2 separate regions of the Homo sapiens genome follow, and region 2 is linked to region 1. The links are contacts of gene promoters, found by promoter capture Hi-C in blood cells and fetal thymus (Javierre and others, 2016). All regions are on one chromosome and are shown on one strand. The core of a region is centred on a gene start or on the middle of the fragment in contact, and the rest is flanking DNA. Distances in the headings are between cores, read along the strand shown. Region 1 holds the start of OARD1 (O-acyl-ADP-ribose deacylase 1). Region 2 overlaps SLC35B2 (solute carrier family 35 member B2).

The links. The method cuts DNA at HindIII sites, captures the fragments that hold promoters and counts their contacts. A CHiCAGO score of 5 or more calls a contact.
Region 2: a contact is called between a fragment that was not itself captured here and the fragment with the promoter of OARD1 in region 1, in 1 of 17 cell types (total CD4 T cells). The highest score is 7.0, in total CD4 T cells.

What each region holds. Positions count from the first base shown.
Region 1 is chr6:41,070,841-41,074,117 of GRCh38, reverse strand. It overlaps OARD1 (O-acyl-ADP-ribose deacylase 1), which reads left to right and starts at 1,762. Exons shown (of 6, transcript NM_001329686.2): 1 at 1,762-1,882; 2 at 2,443-2,522; 3 at 2,842-2,986. The coding sequence starts at 2,484. NFYA (nuclear transcription factor Y subunit alpha) reads right to left here and starts at 1,144. Exons shown (of 10, transcript NM_002505.5): 1 at 1,034-1,144. RefSeq lists silencers at 254-413, 444-1,073 and enhancers at 1,454-1,503, 1,534-1,743. The HindIII fragment of the contact is 4,776 bases long and covers 1-3,277 here.
Region 2 is chr6:44,254,159-44,257,435 of GRCh38, reverse strand. It overlaps SLC35B2 (solute carrier family 35 member B2), which reads left to right. Exons shown (of 4, transcript NM_178148.4): 1 at 1-36; 2 at 558-751; 3 at 940-1,094; 4 at 1,792-3,277. The coding sequence starts at 26. The coding sequence ends at 2,730. MIR4647 (microRNA 4647) reads left to right here and starts at 3,151; the gene lies at 3,151-3,230. RefSeq lists a silencer at 1-229 and enhancers at 1-319, 1,749-2,464. The HindIII fragment of the contact is 1,146 bases long and covers 972-2,117 here.

The sequences.
Region 1 (3,277 bases), core at 513-3,012:
GGAAAAAAAACCCCCAAAACTGTACTATATTCCCAAGGGAGGGAGATTTCACAAAATGAGCAGTGGATAAGATTAGTAATATGAACAGCAAGTTGTGCAGCCTCCGGAAAGAATGCGCAAGGGTATCAATCTTCTAAGAGTGAGGTTCCAGGCACCGAATGGACTGGTCTTACAGCCCGGACAAGAAACGGAGACCGCTTGGTTGGGCTCCAAGACGGAGGTGTGCGGTCCTGCCACTGCGAACGGGGCGGGGAAGAGAGGAAATGACGAGCCAAAAGGGGTGGTAACGGCGCCGGGCCGGAGACCCGGGCGGAGCGGGCTGGGAGGAGGGGCGCGGCGGAGCAGGGGGAGTGGGCGAACTAACGGCCCCCTCTCCCCACCAGGGAGACAGCGGGGGCGGGCCCATAGGGCTCCGAGGCGTGGGCGGGCCAGCCCCGTTGCCAGCCGCACACGGGACCCCGCGGCCGCGGCGCGCACCCTCCCCAGGCCTCCCTCCCGACCTAGAGGGGCTGCAGATAAGACAGACCCGGCTCGCTGGGAGCGGGGAGCGGGGGGCGCGGGCCCCGGGGAGGCTTCCTGTCCCAAGGGCCGGAGAGTGGAGAGTGCAAGGGCAGGTTTAAGTTTGCGGCCAGAACGACCAGGAGGAAATCGCCGAGGCCCAGGGCGCGCATGTGTCCCCTAGTGTAGGGCCATTCGTGGCCCCAGGCCTGGGGCCTGAGAACCTGGGCCTGAGTCGGGGAACAGGGACGCATTCCCAACTGGCCCTGGCACCCTGCGAGGGTCGGAGCCCCGAGGTGCCTGCTCCCCGAGGCGCCATCCCCGCGCGGGGCGGCCCCTGCAGGCCTCGGCCGGGAGTGCCCCGAGGCGCTCGCAGGCCCCGGGCCGGGGCCGCTGGCCGCCCGGCTCGGCTAGGCTCAGCTCGACTCCCCGGGCTCGACGGGCGCCTGGGCCTCTCCTGAGTGGTCAGCGAGACCCGCCAATCGGGGCGCTGGGGCCGGCTCTGGGCCGCTGGATATTGGCTCCTCACACTCACCGTGCCTCGCTCCCCCGGTTCGCTGCCCGCGCTGATTGGCTCCAGTACCGGACTCCGAAACCCAATCAGAGGCTCCAGCCGCCGCTGCCGCCGCCACTGCCGCTGCCTAGCAAAATGGCGAACCCGAACAAAGGGGAATCGGGCCTCCCTCCAACCGCCTCCGCGCAGGCGCCTCTGAGGCCACGCCCACTAACTCCAGTTCAGGGATCGCCCCACCCCTTCGGAGGAGCAACGCGCAGGCGTTCCCTGAAGCCACGCCCACCTTCCCGCTTTGACACCACCCCCAGTGAAAGGAATACGCAGGCGCTTTCCAGACGCGCCAGACCCTTCAACTCAAAACGCTGCCTTGAGCTTAGTACTACGCAGGCGCTAACTAGCCCCTTTGCCAGCTGCCCACCCCTTTCCAAGTGGCCACTAGGACACACCCCTGCGGCTAATGCGCAAGCGCCACTTTTCCCGACTCGTGGGGCAGTTTCGTTACGCATGCGCGGGCGGCGGCGGGAAACCACGGAATTTACTGCCGGAAGTTCGGCGGCCTTCGCCAAAGAGTGTGGGCTCGGCTAGCAAGCTAGAGGGGCTCGTTTCCGCCCCGCTACCGGGCGGGGGCGGCCATCTTAGATGCGTGCAATTAAGGGCTTTGGCGGGATTGGCTCCGCGTTTGGGCTGGTCCGCTGCTCCCCACCTACCAGGGTCGGATCCGGAGCCCTTCCCCGCGGGGCGGGGACCTCCAAACAACCGACTCCTTTCCAGGTGAAGGGTGACTTGGGTACGTTGGGGCTTTGAGCGAGCCTCCCCGCACCCTCCCATAGGACCCCAGGACAGACTGCGTCCTCGCTGACCCGCCCTAGGGTAGGAGACAGAGAATGGGAGGCTTCAATAGACTCTTTCCTTCTCCCACGCACCCCCCAAAAAAGTGGGGGGTGAACGTTCCTTGAGAGGCCGCCTTCCTTTCCCCACGCCTGGGGCTCAGCACGCCAGTACCCTGTACACTCTGTGGTTGCGGCTTAACGGGACTGTGGCCAAGTCCCTTCTGTTTTCTTCTAAGCCAGACCCACTGGGGAAATACTTTTGCGTCGTGCAGAGAAAAGGAGACCGTCCTAAATCGGCCTTGCTCCGGAGTGGCCCTGGAGAAAGGAGGAGGCGTGTCTTAGGGATGGGCTTTGCTTCCGCTGACGGAGCGGGGCGCTCCAGGAAAGCACGAAATGAGAGCGGGTCGAGACAGCCTCCGAACCTAAGCGTTCTTCCTCTTTGCCCCAGAAGGGTTTTGTATTACGTCCCAGGGGCCGAACAAACTCACATTCATCGATAAACGTTGGGGAAAAAAGCCTATTAAGTGGTTGTACAGGGCAATCAGAATATTATATACTAAGGCTGCCTAAGCATTTTTACTTCCTTTTCCCTTCTCATAGCTGAAGAAACACTTAAATTCTGGAAATAGCGACTCAGTATCATGGCCAGCAGCCTTAATGAAGATCCAGAAGGAAGCAGAGTGCGTAACAACTATTGACTTATTGGTGAACTGAAATTCGTAATAATGGAGGTCAAAAGCATAAACACTTTTTAATTAAATTAATGATTGCATTATCTTTTTTTCTCTCTAGCTGATTTACTTTAAAAAGGCTCAAAATTCTAGGCAGGGATCATCCATTACTTTCCTTTTACACATGCTGTAATTGGTTTGGCTTTAAATCAGATTGGAGGAAGGGGTGCCGGGAGAGGTAGTCGTGGGGGACACAAAATACAGAAAAATAGCTTAGTATTTTACTGTATCTAATAAAACATTGTCTTTTCCTTTGCACATTTTTTAGATCACTTATGTGAAAGGAGACCTTTTTGCATGCCCGAAAACAGACTCTTTAGCCCACTGTATCAGTGAGGATTGTCGCATGGGCGCTGGGATAGCTGTCCTCTTTAAGAAGAAATTTGGAGGGGTGCAAGAACTTTTAAATCAACGTGAGTTTTGGAAACCACTTACCTGGTTTGCCCTGGCTAGAGCACCTTTTAATCTGTTACACTTTAATAAAATATGCGTGTAAAGAGGGGATTCCTAAGAACCAAATGTTTTTAAGATTTTCCTCCCCAAGAATGGCCTCTAGTTTAGACGTTTACCATATCAAAACCCAACTCCTGTGAAGGTTTTTAATCTCTTCCTCTTGTATCATGAAACTTTCTTGACGATATTACTGTACTTCTCTGAAACTTGAAATAACTCTGAGATGCTTAGTCTATAGGTTGGCATTCAAG
Region 2 (3,277 bases), core at 295-2,794, 3.2 Mb before region 1:
CCCTCCACCCCACGCGGCCTGGACCATGGACGCCAGGTGGGGGCTAGGGCAGCAGCGAGCTCACGTGACCGAGCCCCCGGGCCACGTGACTGCCGCGCCTCAGCACGGGGGCCGGGTGGGGTCCCGGCTGCTCGGCCGTCGGCCAGCATATCGCTGCCCGGAGCCAGCGGGGATGGGAGCTGCGGCTTGGTTTTGTGCTCCTTGGGGAGCTTCGGGCGGAGGGGCTGGGGACCCTGACGTCCCGGATCGTGGAGGGGAGTGTGGGGGAAGGGGCGCTTCCTCTGACCTGAGCAGCCGGCTAGCGTTGGAGGGAACAGAGGAGACCTGTGTGGCCAGAGGGGCGGATCCGCCCCCGGGGAGGGAGGAAGCTCTGCCTGGCCAGCGCCGGCGCACCCCCTCCCCGAGAGAGAGAGAGAGAGAGAGGCTCTTTGTCCGGGCCGGAGCTGCAGCGGAGGGGGCGGGGAGGAGACTCCGGGCACTACTCCAGTGTGGTCCCCTCTGGAGGGCGGAGGGGATGAGGAGCTGCGCCCTAATCCTTATGTCCGCTTTCCTTACAGATGGTGGGCAGTGGTGGTGCTGGCTGCGTTCCCCTCCCTAGGGGCAGGTGGGGAGACTCCCGAAGCCCCTCCGGAGTCATGGACCCAGCTATGGTTCTTCCGATTTGTGGTGAATGCTGCTGGCTATGCCAGCTTTATGGTACCTGGCTACCTCCTGGTGCAGTACTTCAGGCGGAAGAACTACCTGGAGACCGGTGTGTGAAGAAAGGGCGGGGAAGTGAGCTAGGTCGGGAAAGAGGGTATTTGGCCAGCAGTCCAAACGGGATATGACTTGGAGAGGGCGGGAGGTCGGTAGGCCGGACAGCAGGGCAGGCTGGCTGCTCTGGGGAAGATGAAGTGCTATGGAGAAGATTTGGGGCTTGACTTTGTGTGCTTTCTTCAGGTAGGGGCCTCTGCTTTCCCCTGGTGAAAGCTTGTGTGTTTGGCAATGAGCCCAAGGCCTCTGATGAGGTTCCCCTGGCGCCCCGAACAGAGGCGGCAGAGACCACCCCGATGTGGCAGGCCCTGAAGCTGCTCTTCTGTGCCACAGGGCTCCAGGTGGGTAGGTGGGCTCAGCCTCTCTTCCTGGGTTGGATGCCGGTGGGCAGGGATTCTGTGAAGGTTTCCATTTTACCAGTCCCAGAGCTTTGCTGGCTGGTGTGTTTCGTGTCCTCCTCCCAGGGGCACACTGCACCTCCATCTTTGAGGTGTTTGGGGGAAATGCCCTTTTGTTTCTTCCTTTTCTCCTCTCCAGCACTGGTACTGAAAGTTCATGCTGTTATTTCAAGATGTCTAGTGCAGAAGAGAGGACTCCTCTTGCCCTATTCTCTGTGATTTCTACTGTGCCGTTATTATACTTCCTTCCTGCACTGGTGTCTCACATACTGTAAACCCACTGATAAAATTGTGGGGGAGCCATTCAGCCTTCCCCCAGTACTGCATGTGAGAGAGTGCTAACATGCTGACCCCATGGCATTTTGCAGTGGGTACTAGTTCCACCTTGAATATCATGTTGAACTACAGATACCCAATTCTGAGAGTTCTTGCCTCCCTGAATAGGTTTTTCACACACAGTTGATTCCCTACAAGGTGAATCCAGACTTAGGAGGGGAGAAGAAACTTCTACAGAGGAACCAAAAAGTGTATATTTTCCTTTGAATCACTTAGGCATAATCCTGAAGAGAGAGAGGTCAATTTTTGTCTACCTTTTCATTATCTTGCTTATTGTCTCCTTTGTCTCTACCTTCCCCAACAGGTGTCTTATCTGACTTGGGGTGTGCTGCAGGAAAGAGTGATGACCCGCAGCTATGGGGCCACAGCCACATCACCGGGTGAGCGCTTTACGGACTCGCAGTTCCTGGTGCTAATGAACCGAGTGCTGGCACTGATTGTGGCTGGCCTCTCCTGTGTTCTCTGCAAGCAGCCCCGGCATGGGGCACCCATGTACCGGTACTCCTTTGCCAGCCTGTCCAATGTGCTTAGCAGCTGGTGCCAATACGAAGCTCTTAAGTTCGTCAGCTTCCCCACCCAGGTGCTGGCCAAGGCCTCTAAGGTGATCCCTGTCATGCTGATGGGAAAGCTTGTGTCTCGGCGCAGCTACGAACACTGGGAGTACCTGACAGCCACCCTCATCTCCATTGGGGTCAGCATGTTTCTGCTATCCAGCGGACCAGAGCCCCGCAGCTCCCCAGCCACCACACTCTCAGGCCTCATCTTACTGGCAGGTTATATTGCTTTTGACAGCTTCACCTCAAACTGGCAGGATGCCCTGTTTGCCTATAAGATGTCATCGGTGCAGATGATGTTTGGGGTCAATTTCTTCTCCTGCCTCTTCACAGTGGGCTCACTGCTAGAACAGGGGGCCCTACTGGAGGGAACCCGCTTCATGGGGCGACACAGTGAGTTTGCTGCCCATGCCCTGCTACTCTCCATCTGCTCCGCATGTGGCCAGCTCTTCATCTTTTACACCATTGGGCAGTTTGGGGCTGCCGTCTTCACCATCATCATGACCCTCCGCCAGGCCTTTGCCATCCTTCTTTCCTGCCTTCTCTATGGCCACACTGTCACTGTGGTGGGAGGGCTGGGGGTGGCTGTGGTCTTTGCTGCCCTCCTGCTCAGAGTCTACGCGCGGGGCCGTCTAAAGCAACGGGGAAAGAAGGCTGTGCCTGTTGAGTCTCCTGTGCAGAAGGTTTGAGGGTGGAAAGGGCCTGAGGGGTGAAGTGAAATAGGACCCTCCCACCATCCCCTTCTGCTGTAACCTCTGAGGGAGCTGGCTGAAAGGGCAAAATGCAGGTGTTTTCTCAGTATCACAGACCAGCTCTGCAGCAGGGGATTGGGGAGCCCAGGAGGCAGCCTTCCCTTTTGCCTTAAGTCACCCATCTTCCAGTAAGCAGTTTATTCTGAGCCCCGGGGGTAGACAGTCCTCAGTGAGGGGTTTTGGGGAGTTTGGGGTCAAGAGAGCATAGGTAGGTTCCAGTTACTCTTCCCACAAGTTCCCTTAAGTCTTGCCCTAGCTGTGCTCTGCCACCTTCCAGACTCACTCCCCTCTGCAAATACCTGCATTTCTTACCCTGGTGAGAAAAGCACAAGCGGTGTAGGCTCCAATGCTGCTTTCCCAGGAGGGTGAAGATGGTGCTGTGCTGAGGAAAGGGGATGCAGAGCCCTGCCCAGCACCACCACCTCCTATGCTCCTGGATCCCTAGGCTCTGTTCCATGAGCCTGTTGCAGGTTTTGGTACTTTA